Linked DNA regions of Homo sapiens: regions 2 and 3 are each linked to region 1. Evidence: promoter capture Hi-C in 16 types of primary human blood cells and fetal thymus (Javierre and others, 2016). All regions are on one chromosome and are shown on one strand. Each heading gives the region's core, a stretch centred on a gene start or on the middle of the fragment in contact. The rest is flanking DNA. Distances are from core to core; before and after follow the strand shown.

Region 1 (5,062 bases), core at 1,007-3,506:
TCTACTAAAAATACAAAAATTAGTCAGGCGTGGTGGTGCACTCCTGTAATCCCAGCTACTTGGTTGGCTGAGGCAGGAGAATCGCTTGAACCTGGGAGGCAGAGGTTGCAGTGAGCTGAGATCACGCCACTGCACTCCAGCCTGGGTGACACTGCTAGACTCCATCTCAAAAAAAGAGAAAGAAGGAAGGAAGGAAGGAAGGAAGGGGAAGGGCTGTGGTTTATGATCTTCAGAAAAGTTGAGATCCTGGCCAAGGAAAGGGGATGGTGATTGGCCCATTATTAACAAGAGCTGATTTTTTTGTTCATGAGATGGGTTTTTTGTTTGTTTGTTTGTTTTTCTTTTCTTTTCTTTTTTTTTTTTTTTTTTGAGACAGAGTCTAGCTCTGTTGCCCAGGCTGAAGTGTAGTAGTGCAATCTCAACTCACTGCAACTTCCGCCTCCCTGTTTCAAGTGTTTCTGCTGCCTCAGCCTCCTGAGTAGCTGGGGCTGCAGGCGCCCGCCACCATGCCCGACAAATTTTTTGTATTATTAGTAGAGACGGGGTTTCACCATGTTGGCCAGGCTGATCTCAAACTCTTGGCCTCAAGTGATCTGCCCACTTTGACCTCCCAAAGTGTTGGGATTACAGGCGTGAGCCACTGTACCCGGTCTCATGAGATGTTAAGAATTATTTGATGATTTAGACGTGGACACAGTAGTTATATACCTCAAAAGAGGGATCTCCTCTGTAAATCTTCTAATTTCCCTTACTAATTATGAATACCCATTAACTATTTTAACCCCTTTTTGTGTAACCTCTGTTTATATCTTTTGCCTTTTCCACCTAAACTTATTTAAGCTTAAGTGAAGTTTTGTTTGCTCTACATTGACCTCCTCTTAAATTGTACATTCCCAGCTTCTGTATTTGGAGCATAAGTCTGTATCTACTCTTTCCATTATTTCTGTGACTTTATAGATTCATCATGTTATTCCTCAAACATCATCTTTCTAGATCCAGCACTGAGGTAAAACTCAGAGGGGAGGGATGTAGAAGAGAGCAGAGGAAATTTAACAGAAAATTCTGGGGAGCTTTTCCAAATACAATGTGTCTGCTTCCCCCCTTCCCTGAGCGTATCAGAATCTTGGCTGGGGAAATGTGTTGTTGCTGTTGTTTTCAAGAGATAGGGTCTCCCTCTGTCACTCAGGCATTGGAGTACAGGGGCTCACTGCTGCCTTGAACACTGGGGCTCAAGAGATCCTCCCACCTCAGCCTCTTAAAATGCTGGGATTACAGGTGTGAGCCACCATGCCTGACTGAAATTTCAGTCTGACTGAAAGTTTTTGAGAACTTTCACATCTAATTCTAATGGTCAACTCTCTCTATCCCGTCATAGCCATTGTTCTGAACTGAAGGGCTCTTCAGTTCTTGGGGTCTTTTGGTTTTGTCATCATGAGGCACTTCCTTCATTTCCGTGTTAGCTCATACCTGACATTCTGATGGAATCAACTTTTCCATTCGGTGTGTAACCAACAGTAGATGGGGATTACAACAGAAGTTTGAAATCTAGGCCACGCACGGTGGCTCACACCTGTAATCCCAGCTTTTTGAGAGGCTGAGGCTGGCATATCACGAGGTCAGGAGTTCGAGACCAGCCTGGCCAACATGGTGAAACCCCGTCTCTACTAAAACAAAAATTAGCCAGGCATGGTGGTGCATGCCTGTAGTCCCAGCTACTCGTGAGGCTGAGGCAGGAGAATTGCTTGCACCTGGGAGGCGGAAGTTGCAATGAGCCGAGATTGCACCACTGCACTCCAGCCTGGGTGACAGAGCGAGACTCTGTCTCAAAAAAAAAAAAAAAGCTTGCAATCTTAAAAAGTAAGTTGGAGTCCAGGTGCAGTGGTTCATGCCTGTAATCCCAGCACTTTGGGAGGCTGAGGCAGATGGATCACTTGAGCCCAAGAGTTGGAGACAACCCTGGGCAACATGGCAAAACCCCATCTCTACAAAAAATACAAAAGTTATTTGGATGTGGTGGCACACACCTGTGGTCACAGTTACTTGGGAGGCTGAGACAAGAGGATTGCTTGAGCCAGGGAGAAGGAGGTTGCAGTGAGCTGAGATTGTGCCACTGCACTCCAACCTGGGTGACAGTGAGAGACTCTGTCTCAAAAAACAAACAAAAAATAGGTTGTTACTTAACTATGGATCCCAGAGAACTATTAGACCGTTCCTGATGCAAATCCACCTCATCCAACAGCTTTTTCTTGACTTTTCTTCCAGCAGCTTGCGCTAAATGAATTCATCAAGTGACTGAAGACAACCAGTGATGGACGGGGTGAATGATAGCTCCTTGCAGGGCTTTGTTCTGATGGGCATATCAGACCATCCCCAGCTGGAGATGATCTTTTTTATAGCCATCCTCTTCTCCTATTTGCTGACCCTACTTGGGAACTCAACCATCATCTTGCTTTCCCGCCTGGAGGCCCGGCTCCATACACCCATGTACTTCTTCCTCAGCAACCTCTCCTCCTTGGACCTTGCTTTCGCTACTAGTTCAGTCCCCCAAATGCTGATCAATTTATGGGGACCAGGCAAGACCATCAGCTATGGTGGCTGCATAACCCAGCTCTATGTCTTCCTTTGGCTGGGGGCCACCGAGTGCATCCTGCTGGTGGTGATGGCATTTGACCGCTACGTGGCAGTGTGCCGGCCCCTCCGCTACACCGCCATCATGAACCCCCAGCTCTGCTGGCTGCTGGCTGTGATTGCCTGCCTGGGTGGCTTGGGCAACTCTGTGATCCAGTCAACATTCACTCTGCAGCTCCCATTGTGTGGGCACCGGAGGGTGGAGGGATTCCTCTGCGAGGTGCCTGCCATGATCAAACTGGCCTGTGGCGACACAAGTCTCAACCAGGCTGTGCTCAATGGTGTCTGCACCTTCTTCACTGCAGTCCCACTAAGCATCATCGTGATCTCCTACTGCCTCATTGCTCAGGCAGTGCTGAAAATCCGCTCTGCAGAGGGGAGGCGAAAGGCGTTCAATACGTGCCTCTCCCATCTGCTGGTGGTGTTCCTCTTCTATGGCTCAGCCAGCTATGGGTATCTGCTTCCGGCCAAGAACAGCAAACAGGACCAGGGCAAGTTCATTTCCCTGTTCTACTCGTTGGTCACACCCATGGTGAATCCCCTCATCTACACGCTGCGGAACATGGAAGTGAAGGGCGCACTGAGGAGGTTGCTGGGGAAAGGAAGAGAAGTTGGCTGAGAGAACACTCCTTCGTTATTTATTGCGTCTTCATCTCTACATGCGTTTCTCATTAACTCTCTCTGGCCAGGTGAACATGAGGAATACTAATTCCGGTAAAACCAAGGCATGTTCCTGACAGCCCTAAGCTGACAGCCCTAAGCTGTTGGGAACATGGTTAGTGTTATTCGTAATGTTCTACACTTATTTACCAAAAATCCTACTGTGGACTACCGATAGCAGGGGAGACATGTTGTTGAGGGCTCAGAGGTTATTGACCTGTGACAGACCTGTCTCACTGTCTCTGTCTCTGTTGCCCACATGTTATTTAATATGCCTTATATTTCTGCAGAATTCTGTACTTTTCTAAGCAAAGCACCTCCACTTGCAGTATCTTACATAATGTTACTATAATTCCATAAAATCAAGCCATGTATTATTAACTTCATATGAAGACCCAAACAATTCATGTTTTTACCCTATCTGTCATTATCTTTGCCTACCTCTTTTTGTCTCTTCTTCATTTTTTTTAAGAGTTGGAGTCTTGCTCTGTTGCCCAGGCTGAAGTAGAGTGGCATGATCTTAGCTCACTGCAGCCTTCAACTCCTGGGCTCAAGCAATCCTTCAGTCTTCTGAGTAGCTGGGACTATAGGCACATGCTACCACACCTAACTAATTTTTATTTTTATTTTTTACAGATGGGGTCTCACTCTGTTAACAGCCCAGGCTGGTCTAGAATTCTTGGCCTCAAGTAATCTTCCTGCCTTGACTTCCCCAAGTGCTGGGATTATGGGTGTGATCTACCGCACCTGGCCTGTCTCTTCTTAATAATGCAGTATACCACTGGGTGCAGTGGCTCACACCTGTAATCCCAGCACTTTGGGAGGCCGAGGCGGGTGGATCACCTGAGGTCAGGAGTTCGGGACCAGCCTGACCAACATGGAGAAACACTGTCTCCACTAAAAATACAAAATTAGCCTTGCATCGTGGCACATGCCTGTAATCCCAGCTACTCGGGAGGCTGAGGCAGGAGAATCGCTTGAACTCGGGAGGCAGAGGTTGTGGTGAGCTGAGATCGTGCCATTGCACTCCAGCCTGGGTAACGAGCAAAACTCCGTCTCAATAATAATAATAATAACAATAATAATAATGTAGTATATCTGTCCATACTTTCCATCCATATATCTCTCCATCATCTTGTTTACCCTCTCCCTTATGCCTATATTCCAATTTCTCTTCTACTAATCTATTATTTAATAATAAAAGATTAAGCCAGGCACGGTGGCTCACGCCTGTAATCCCAGCACTTTGGGAGGCCGAGGTGGGTGGATCACGAGGTCAGCAGTTCGAGACCAGCCTGACCAACACGGTGAAACCCCGTCTCTACTAAAAATATGAAAAAAATTAGTTGGGCATGGTGGTGGGTGCCTGTAACCCCAGCGACTTGGGAGGCTGAGGCAGGAGAATCATTTGAAGCTGGAGGGTGGAGGTTGCCGTGAGACGAGATTGCACTACTGCACTCTAGCCTGGGCAATAAGAGCGAAACTCCATCTCAAAAAAAAAAAAAAAAAAAAAAAAAAAAGAAAGAAAAGATTAAAAAGGTCATTTGCAGCTGGGCACAGTGGCTCATGCCTGTAATCTCAGCACTTTGGGAGGCTGAGGTGGGTGGGTCACCTGAGGTCAGGAGTTTGAGCCAGCCTGGCCAACATAGTGAAACCCCATTTCTACCAAAAATACAAAAATTAGCCAGGTGTGGTGGTGCACACCTATAGTCCAGCTACTTGGGAGGCTGAGGCAGGAGACTTGCTTGAACCCGGGAGGTGGAGGTTGCAGTGA
Region 2 (5,062 bases), core at 1,901-4,400, 150 kb before region 1:
ATGGCGTGGACCCGGGAGGCAGTGAGCCAAGATTGCGCCACTGCGCTCTAGCCTGGGCGACAGAGCAAGACGTCATCTCAAAACAAACAAACAAACAAAAAACGAATAAACAAACAAAGAACCAGGAAAAGGTCAATTTGAAGGCAGGTAAGATCAGAATGCACATGCTCTACAGAAGGGAAAGTACCTACTGAAGATAGCTTTGCTTTAATGACCTCAATTACAAGGTGAATGCTGAGGCTTACTGTGTGGACTGTGTGGTCACCACAGTTGCTGTGTCCCAAGAACATGGTCACATTCTTGACTACCTATCCTGCCTCACTAGGATTACAGGTGTGACCCACCATGCCTGACCAATGGCATTAATTACATTGACAATGTATGCAATAATCACCATTATCTGTTTCCAAAACGTTTTCGTTTCAAACAAATTCTGTAACCATTAAGCAATAACTCCCCACATCCCCTTCCCCAGCTGTTAATAACCTTTAATCTACTTCCTGTCTCTATGGATTTGCCTACTCTAGACATTTCATCTAAGTAGAATAATACATTATGTGTTCTTTTGTATCTGGCTTCTTTCACTTAGCATAATGTCTCAGGGTTCATCCACATTGTAGTGTGTGTCAGTGCTTCATTCCTTTTTTATGGATGAATGATATTCCATCATAAGGATCTACCACATTTTGTTTATCTATTCATCTGTTGATGGATACTTGTGTTATTTTCACATTTTGGCCATTGTGACTAATGTACAATAATTGTTGTACAAATATCTGTTTGAGTCCCTGTTTTCAATTCTTTTGGGTACAAACCTAGGAATGGAATTGCTGGATTGTATGGTAATTGTATGTTTAGCTCCTGGGGGAACAACCCAACTGTTTTCCCCAGCAGCTGCATCATTTTACCTTCTCACCAGCAATGTAGAGCTCTAGTTTCTCTACATCCTTGCCAACACTTGTCATTTTTGTCTGCTTGTTTAATTATTGCCAAATACGTGGAGGAAAAGGGGAATTCCTATCCTCCTCCATTTAGTCCTGGTGACAATGTCCATCACTGGATTCCCGCATGGAATGGATTGAGCTGATGATCCAGAATGATGAGAGTACTCTGTTCTTCCATGCAGAATGGTTTGTTCAGGTTTGGACACATGACCCACGAAGGGATGATCACAACCTTACCTGGAGTTGAGGTAGGAAGCAGGGCTCGGACACTGGACCAAATTGAGGATTAGCTAAAAGAGATGGGGCGGAAGCAGCTTTCCATAAGACATACCCACCAGTGACACCCAGGCGTCACTGCCCCTTTCCATGGCAATGACTCAGTGACCCAAACGTTACTACCCCTTCCCTAGAAATTTCTGCATAAACTGCACCTTATTCTACATGTACTTAAAAATGGGTATAAATATGGCTGCAAAACTCCCTAGAGCTGTTACTCTCAGCACACTGCCTATGGGGGAGCCCTCCTCTGCAGGAGCAGTCAGGCAGCTGTAACACTGCCTGCTGCTTTAGTAAAGCTGTTTTCTTCTACCACTGGCTCGCCCTTGTATTCTTTCCTGGGCAAAGCCAAGAACCCTTGCAGACTAGGCCTCACTTTGGGGCTCGCTTGTCCTGCATCAGTACAATGTTATTAATAAATAAACATTGGTAGAGGGAAGTTTCATGTGCCCTGTGGCTGCTAGTCTGGAAGGATGTGAATTTGGAGCCACTGTTGGACATCTTGCTGCCACATGAGGAGAGGTAATCTGCAGAATGAAGCTGAGCAGAAGCCAATGCAGTAGTGAGATAGAGAAATACAGGGTCTTGATGTTATCATTCAGCTCCCTGAATTTGGTCTGGCCTGAAACACAAAGGCTTTGCAAGAAGACACCTTGGATTTTGTAATGACATTAACCTGTCATTTCTCCCTAGGCTGATATGAGTTGGTTTTCTATCGCTTGCAAATAATGTCTTTGCTAATTCAGTGTCCATTCTCCTCCTCCTCCCCAGATCTTTCGTAATTAGCTTTATGGGTTGTTTGTTGTTCTTGTTGTTTGTTTGTTTTTAAGACGAATTCTCGCTCTGTTGCCCAGCCTGGTGGGCATGGTAGTGCACGCCTGTAGTACCTTGCCTGGGCAACAAGAATGAAATTCCATCTCAAAATAATAATAATAATAATAATAATAATAATAATAATAATAATAATAACAATTTAATATCTTCAGCCTTCACCTAGTGGACATGGTCTTAGCCCAGTGCATTGATGAGGTTAAGAGTCACGAGATATTTAACATAAATTACCTAGTTTAGTTATTACAACCCTACAAGGTGAATATTATTTCTCCACTCTATAGATGATGGGAGCTGGTGATTCAGTGGAGGTTACTAGCTTTTCTAAGGCTATACAACTGGTAATGGTGGATCTGGAAATTGAGTGCTGGTCTGTGAAAATCCAAAGGTTATCTTCTTAATCCCAGTACAGCTTCACAGGTATCTCCCAACAAGATCAGCATCCCAGCTGGGTGGGGGATAAAATACAGGGTCGTGAGTTTCCTCTAGCAGAAGGATTGTTGCCAATGATTACCCCTTAGATTGCATCACTTTCAGTGTTGCCAAGTGCTGAGGCAGGAATTATGTATGACAAAGCTTTATCGTCAGTGTCGGACACAAAAGAGCCAAGGAGGGGAAGGGACAATTACTCTCTGCTTTTCTCAATGAGGCTCTCAGGGAATATGACCCTAGTGGCCATGGAGGCTCCTGTGAAGAGCTTGCCCTGTGATTCTTCCAAACATCCTTCCTGCATCAAGGGCTGAGTCTGTGCAGCCCAGCTCCTGATTCATGAGATACTCAGCCTCAAAGCTCCAGTGACGAGTCACCCTCCCTCAGACCAATAACCTCTGGCCAGGTCTGAAAAAGGGAAGCCAACCCAGGACTTCAGGAGACAGTGAGGACTGCTGCTCTTTCTGGGTAAGAGTCAGATCATTGGCCAGGTGTGGTGGCTCACGCCTGTAATCCCAGCACCTTGGGAGGCCAAGGCGGGCGGATCACGAGGTCAAGAGATAGAGACCATCATGGCCAACATGGTGAAACCCCGTCTCTACTAAAAATACAAAAATTAGCTGGGCGTGGTGGCACGTGCCTATAATCCCAGCTACTTGGGAGGCTGAAGCAGGAGAATCACTTGAACTAGGGAGCTGAAGGTTGCAGCGAGCCAAGATCTCGCCACTGCACTCTAGCCTGGCGACAGAGCGAGACTCCGTTTAAAAAAAGAAATAAAAAGAGTCACATCAGTGGGACTTCACTGATAACTGCTTGTCAGGACTTAAAGCCTCAGAGGGACCCTCCTTCCTTTCAATTATGTGGAGCCAGAAAAACAGTCCTGAGCTCAGCAGCAGTCCCTTGCAATCACCCAGTCAGGACCAGCCTCTGTCCCGTCTGTCTGACATCCTGAACTGTGGGGAACACAAACTGACTGAGTTTCTGCCCAGACCTCTGGGTTGTTCCATTTTAATTTTACAAATTGGACTCAGGGTGCTCCGTGGATATAGCCAAGAAGGCCTGGCTCAGACTTCTGTAAACCTGAGCCCTGAACATAGCAGTAGCAGCCCCAGCAGGGTTGACAATATTATCATTTACATCCTGCAAGCAAAATTCTACTGCCATTCCTGTGCCCCATCTTAACCAGCATTTTCCAAGCTTTTGCATTTCGTCTTCTTTGTCTGCCTCTGTGTCCAGGATCCCAGGCCCATGAGCGGGACAAACCAGTCGAGTGTCTCCGAGTTCCTCCTCCTGGGACTCTCCAGGCAGCCCCAGCAGCAGCATCTCCTCTTTGTGTTCTTCCTCAGCATGTACCTGGCCACTGTCCTGGGGAACCTGCTCATCATCCTGTCCGTAAGCATAGACTCCTGCCTGCACACCCCCATGTACTTCTTCCTCAGCAACCTGTCTTTTGTGGACATCTGCTTCTCCTTCACCACCGTCCCCAAGATGCTGGCCAATCACATACTCGAGACTCAGACCATCTCCTTCTGTGGCTGTCTCACACAGATGTATTTCGTTTTCATGTTCGTGGACATGGACAATTTCCTCCTAGCTGTGATGGCCTATGACCACTTTGTCGCCGTGTGCCACCCCTTACATTACACAGCAAAGATGACCCATCAGCTCTGTGCCCTGCTGGTTGCTGGATTATGGGTGGTTGCCAACCTGAATGTCCTTCTGCACACCCTGCTGATGGCTCCACTCTCATTCTGTGCAGACAATGCCATCACTCACTTCTTCTGCGATGTGACTCCCCTACTGAAACTCTCCTGCTCAGACACACACCTCAATGAGGTCATAATCCTTAGTGAGGGTGCCCTGGTCATGATCACCCCATTTCTTTGCATCCTGGCTTCTTATATGCACATCACCTGCACTGTCCTGAAGGTCCCATCCACAAAGGGAAGGTGGAAAGCCTTCTCCACCTGTGGTTCTCACCTGGCTGTGGTTCTCCTCTTCTACAGCACCATCATTGCTGTGTATTTTAACCCTCTGTCCTCCCACTCAGCTGAGAAAGACACTATGGCTACTGTGTTGTATACAGTAGTGACTCCCATGCTAAACCCTTTCATCTACAGCCTGAGGAACAGGTACTTGAAAGGGGCTCTGAAAAAAGTAGTTGGCAGGGTGGTGTTTTCTGTCTGATGAAATAATCAAGACTGAATCTCATTCCCAAGGAAATTTATTTTTCACCAATTGAGTTTAATGCAGTAGTTGTTTCATTAAATGATGTTCTTGCTAGTGACACACTTAGTAATTATACTAAGTTAAACTATTAATTATAATTTTTTTTGAGACAGGGTCATGCTCTGTCACCCAGGCTGGAGTGCAGTGCCGTGATCTTGGCTCACTGCACCCTCCATCTCCCAGGCTCAAGTGATCCTCCTGCCTCAGCCTCCTGAGTAGCTGGGACCACAGGTGTGTGCCACATGCCTAGCTAAATTTTTTTTTTTTTTTTTGAGACGGAGTCTCTCTATGTCGCCAGGCTGGATGCTGTTGCGGGAAGTCAGGGACCCTGAACAGAGGGACCAGCTGGAGCT
Region 3 (5,062 bases), core at 923-3,422, 130 kb before region 1:
GCAAGCAAAACTGAAGAATCCCTAAATCGCACCACACGATCAGTCCGTAAAGGCACCGCTGGCCTTGCTTCTAGGCAGAGGACAGGAAGGTATGGATATCAAGAGGCTGAAGACAATTAATACCCACTACAATGAAGACACCTGGAAACCTGTCTCTTGAGAGGCAATGTGAGCTAACCACTGGAGACGTAATTTCTAATCATACAACACTTTGCCTTGTGAGGTAGTGACCACCCCATTGCCAAAGGTCTGATGACAGCATAGAGGGGACCTAAGCATATGGTAAGGTTATTGATGAGACATGGATCCAAGCCAACTTTTTCCTGCCTCCAGGTTGACCCTTCCTCTCTGGGTCTTGGGGTTTCCTTCGTAGCACATGAGATCTGGGCTCAACAGAGGGACAAGATTCTGAAGAGCTTTTCTAGTGGTGGGGCTGGATGGCCCTGCCTGAGTAATCCAAACTTCTTTTAGCAAGGGAGAAGCATGAGACGGCTGCTGGAGAGATCAACAGCAGAACAAAATACAATAAGAACAGTAGACACCTAAATTATGTTGTGAAAAGGAATCTGTAAAAGTCAGTTTTATCACAAATTGTAAATATTATTGAAATTGATTGCAAATTTAGATCACATACAAATGAGAGTCTGACATTCAACTGTTTTCCTATATTCCAAAGTAAACAATTCCTTTCAACACTCAAGACTTAAACAGGTATTCTTAGAGGGTTATATGAATTGCTATCAGAAGCTGTTGGCTAACAAGCCAGTAATTTGGTTCTTTCACCAGAACACAGTTCCAGATAAGCATCTTTGCACTATTTCTCAAGTATGAATCCCCATGTGGGGGGAAAACGGATATACTTTCAATAGACACAAGTCACTCTTTGCCTTCCAAGTAAGCAGACTCCAGATTCATCTTCAAAGTGTTGGGAAAGGGGATCTGTGACCTGTACATTATCATATAACTTCAAAAAGGAAAGCTCCTTAGTCCAAAAAGCCTAGATGCTGAGGTATAGCCCTTGAAATGTTTTCTTCCCTGTGAATTTTCTAGCAATTTGAGGTTTTAGCTAAGATGGGCATTTATCCAATTTTGGCAATAATGAGATTTTTACACATTTATACCTTTTTAGGCAGCTTGGGAATTCAGAACTACTTATGAAAGCTCTCAGGTTGAGGCAGCACCATCAGACCCAGAAAGGGTTCCCAGTATTACTTCTGCTTTCGGGTCTTACAGGCTGAGTGGGTTTTCTCATGCCGGGTACAGTTTGACAGCCGACCAAATCTTCTCCCACATTTTTTGCAACCATATGGTCTCTCAGCCTCATGACTCTGCAGATGAAGCACAAACTCCTCATTCTTTGGGAAGGTTTTCCCACATTCTGGACACTTAAATATCTTCTCCCTTATATGGATTCCTTCATGACGACTCCGATGAGAATTCTGACGGAAGTTTTTTCCACACTGAGAACAGGAATAAGGTTTCTCTCCTGTATGAATTCGCTCATGTTTATTGAGGTTTGTTTTATGATTGAAGCTTTTCCCACAGTGATTACAGTCATAGGGTTTTTCTCCAGTGTGGGTCCTCTGGTGGGAAATGAGGTAAGAACTTTCATTAAACTGTTTCCCACACAGTGGACAAGTGTACCATCTCCTTGTCCTCCGATTTCGAGTAAGGGCAATAATACTGATGTCTACATATTTTGAGAGTTCCTCTAGAGGAGTATCATTCTCAATGGTAACTAACAGATTTCTCATTTTCCTTTTTTGTGGAATGGATGTATTTAGTCGTTCCTTTTCCTGGTTATCGGGAGGCTGCTGAGAGACCAAGGAAGAATCCATTTCATCATCATCTGAAGACTTTTCTCTATAATCTTCATTTTCTACAGGTTCCCTCTCAGGATCTTCACCTTCAGGATTACTGCCATTGACTGCTGAAACAAAGAGAGAATTTAACAACTTCTGAGAGATATCACAACACCAGGCAGGAAAAAACAAGTCAGGTTTCTTATGCCACAGCCACCTTGAACGTCAATCTGGGGAGTGGCGGATACTGCCGTCGCACTCCTTTTCCATACTTATTGAGGGTGGGATACATAACTGATAAATCTTTCCATCTACCACAATGCAAGCACACTTTAAAGAAATAAAATGAGTGGGATTTCACTGAAAGACTTCAAATGTTTGTTCTCTTCATAGGTGTTAATTACTCGACAAGTTCATATTCACCTTATACTCTGTAGAGCACTCAGGTAAGGACTAGGGATGAAGACTATACATCTATACAGGGAACCACTCATCATCTTGAAGGAGTCTGGTAACTGAATAGTAAGACGAACCACTTGTAGGTTTTCACTATATTAAATATTATCACACTATTATAGCACTAAATAATATCATAATGTCTTACAATGAGAAAATTGAAACAATTCCAATAAGCAAAATTAAAGAGGGCACAGCATATTCATACAAAAGTTTATTATTGGCCAGGCGTGGTGGCTCACACCTGTAATCCCAGCACTTTGGGAGGTCAAGGCGAGCAGATCACCCAAGGCTGGGAGTTCAAGACCAGCCTGACCATCGTGGAGAAACCCTGTCTCTACTAAAAATACAAAATAAGCTGGGCATGGTGGCACATGCCTGTAATCTCAGCTACTAGGGAGGCTGAGGCAGGAGAATCACTTGAAACCGGAAGGCAGAGGTTGCAGTGAGCCGAGATCGCGCCATTGCACTCCAGCCTGGGCAACAAGAGCGAATCTGTCTCAAAACAGAAAAAAGTTTATTATTTGGCAATTAAAGAGATTACTACAACTAATGAAGCTTTGGGATTAGAAGTCAGTAGTGTTTCTCTTTGTGTAGGAAAGGAAGTAGTGAGTGGGTACAGGGCACAAAAGGGATTTTTGGGATGCTAAGAAAAGTCCATTTTGGGTGGTGCTTAGTGTGTACATTTTGTGAAAACTTGAGCTATATATTTACAATTGGTAGGCTTTTTCTATATTTCCATTATACTTCAGAAAAAAGTCAGTGTAAGCAGATTATAAAGACTGGGTAACAAAGTGAAAAAGAACCATGCTGTGGATATACTTGTGTGACAAGGGACCCCTCAACTCAGGCCTACTGAGAGTCAAGGGTTCAAATCAACCACCAAGACATGGGGGCTGATCCTGAAGCTGGAGTTGGAATCTCTGCTGGATTCAGCAGTTTCACACCAATAGATTTTTTTTTATTTCACTTTTTTTTTTTTTTGGCAGAGATAGGGTCTTGCTATGTTGCCTAGGCTGGTTTTGCACTCGTGTACTCAAGCAATCTTCCCAAAGTGCTGGGGATTACAGGTGTAAGCCCCCACACCCAGCCTTAATTATTTTTTCTTTCTTTTTTTTTTTTTTTTTTTGAGATGGAGTCTCGCTTTGTCGCCCAGGTTGGAGTGCAATGGCACCATCTCAGTTCACTGCAAGCTCCGCCTCCTGGGTTCACTCCATTCTCCTACCTGAGCCTCCCCAGTAGCTGGGACTACAGACGTCCACCACCGCGCCCAGCTAATTTTTTGTATTTATAGTAGAGAGAGGGTTTCATCGTGTTAGCCAGGATGGTCTTGATGATCTCCTGACCTCGTGATCCACCCGCCTAGGCCTCCCAAAGTGCTGGGATTACAGGCATGAGCCACTGCGCCCGACCTAATTATTCTTTTTAATCACTCCCTTAGGATAATGAAATGTCAATTTTTACCATAGCTCTTGACATGAACTACCATTCTGCTTTCAAAAACAGCTCTACTAATTTCATGTGAATATTAACTTTACCTAATCTTGTTAGCATTAAATTTTAAAATATTTAATAGGTATAAAATAGTTTCTCATTGTAGTTTTACTTTGGATTTTCATTATGCAAAATAATCTACTGGGTTAAGGCTTTTATAAATGTATATCTTTGTCAATGATTTCTTGTCTAAATAATTTTTAACTCAACTCTTCCTCTTTAACTACACTTGGACTGCTTCCAACCTTGTGTTTTTACAAACAATACCACAGTGAATAATCTTCTTTGTACATCATTTCGAATGTGTTCTGTTGCTATATCTGTAGGTCAGATTTCCAGAATTGAACTCCTGGAACAAAGGATAAGATGGGTAGTTACAGATGCAATTACCCTTATACAGGGACTATACCATTTTATATGCCCACCAGCAATATACCTGTTTCTCAACAACCTCACCATCAATGTGTTTTTATTTCTATAAATATGAAATACGCAAAATGTTAATTCACTAGAGGCTTAATTTGCACTTCTTTTTGCTCCTGTCACGCAGGCTGGAGTGCAGTGGCGTGATCTCGGCTCACTGCAACCTCCACCTCCTGGGTTCAAGTGATTCTCCTTCCTCAGCCTCCCGAGTAGCTGGGATTATAGGCATGCCCCACCACATCCAGCTAATTTTTGTATTTTTAGTAAAAATGGGGTTTTGCCATGTTGGCCAGGCTGGTCTCAAAACTCCTGACCTCAGGTGATCCACCTGCCTCGGCCTCCCAAAGTGCTGGGATTACAGGCGTGAGCCACCATGCCCCAGCCTTTTGTACGTATTTGAATCTGTCAATCTTTTCTTTCAAGGCTTCTGGGCTTTTGAGTCTTAATTACAAAAACCTTCCTATCCCATGGTTATAAAGGAATCACTCATATTTTCTAAATGTGCTTTTTATATTTGTTTTAAACATTTAAAATCTTTGATCCATGTGGACTTTTTCTTGGTATGTAAAGTAAGGTACTAATTTATCAAGTGGCTGTCAGTCGTCCTAACACCTTTTATCAAAAAGTCCCCCTTTATGGTTAGGCTTTGTGTCCTCGCCCAAATCTCATCTTAAATTGTAATCCCACATGTCAAGGAGACATCAGGTGAAGGTAACTGAGTCATGGGCGGGGGGGCCTTCCCCCATGCTATTCTCATGATAGTGAGTTCTCATGAGATCTGATGGTTTTATAAGGGGCTCTTCCCCCTTTACTCGTACTTCTCCCTCCTGCTGCCTTGTGAAGATGATGCCTTGCTTCCTCTTGCCTTTGCCATGATTTTAAGTTTC

What was found. The method cuts DNA at HindIII sites, captures the fragments that hold promoters and counts their contacts. A CHiCAGO score of 5 or more calls a contact.
Region 2: a fragment that was not itself captured here is called in contact with the fragment with the promoter of OR2C1 in region 1 in 4 of 17 cell types (erythroblasts, M1 macrophages, monocytes and 1 more); the score reaches 8.1 in erythroblasts.
Region 3: a fragment that was not itself captured here is called in contact with the fragment with the promoter of OR2C1 in region 1 in 3 of 17 cell types (erythroblasts, M1 macrophages and monocytes); the score reaches 5.5 in erythroblasts.

The regions. Positions count from the first base shown.
Region 1 is chr16:3,353,633-3,358,694 of GRCh38, forward strand. OR2C1 (olfactory receptor family 2 subfamily C member 1) reads left to right here and starts at 2,257. Exons shown (of 1, transcript NM_012368.3): 1 at 2,257-3,674. The coding sequence starts at 2,309. The coding sequence ends at 3,247. The HindIII fragment of the contact is 3,889 bases long and covers 1,840-5,062 here.
Region 2 is chr16:3,200,519-3,205,580 of GRCh38, forward strand. OR1F1 (olfactory receptor family 1 subfamily F member 1) reads left to right here. Exons shown (of 4, transcript NM_001370640.6): 4 at 3,717-5,062. The coding sequence starts at 3,729. The coding sequence ends at 4,667. Among named protein-coding and RNA genes, the nearest start is that of TRP-AGG1-1, 11 kb to the left of the region's middle. The HindIII fragment of the contact is 1,050 bases long and covers 2,626-3,675 here.
Region 3 is chr16:3,222,684-3,227,745 of GRCh38, forward strand. ZNF200 (zinc finger protein 200) reads right to left here. Exons shown (of 5, transcript NM_198088.3): 5 at 1-1,930. The coding sequence ends at 1,209. Among named protein-coding and RNA genes, the nearest start is that of ZNF200, 9.9 kb to the right of the region's middle. The HindIII fragment of the contact is 1,283 bases long and covers 1,532-2,814 here.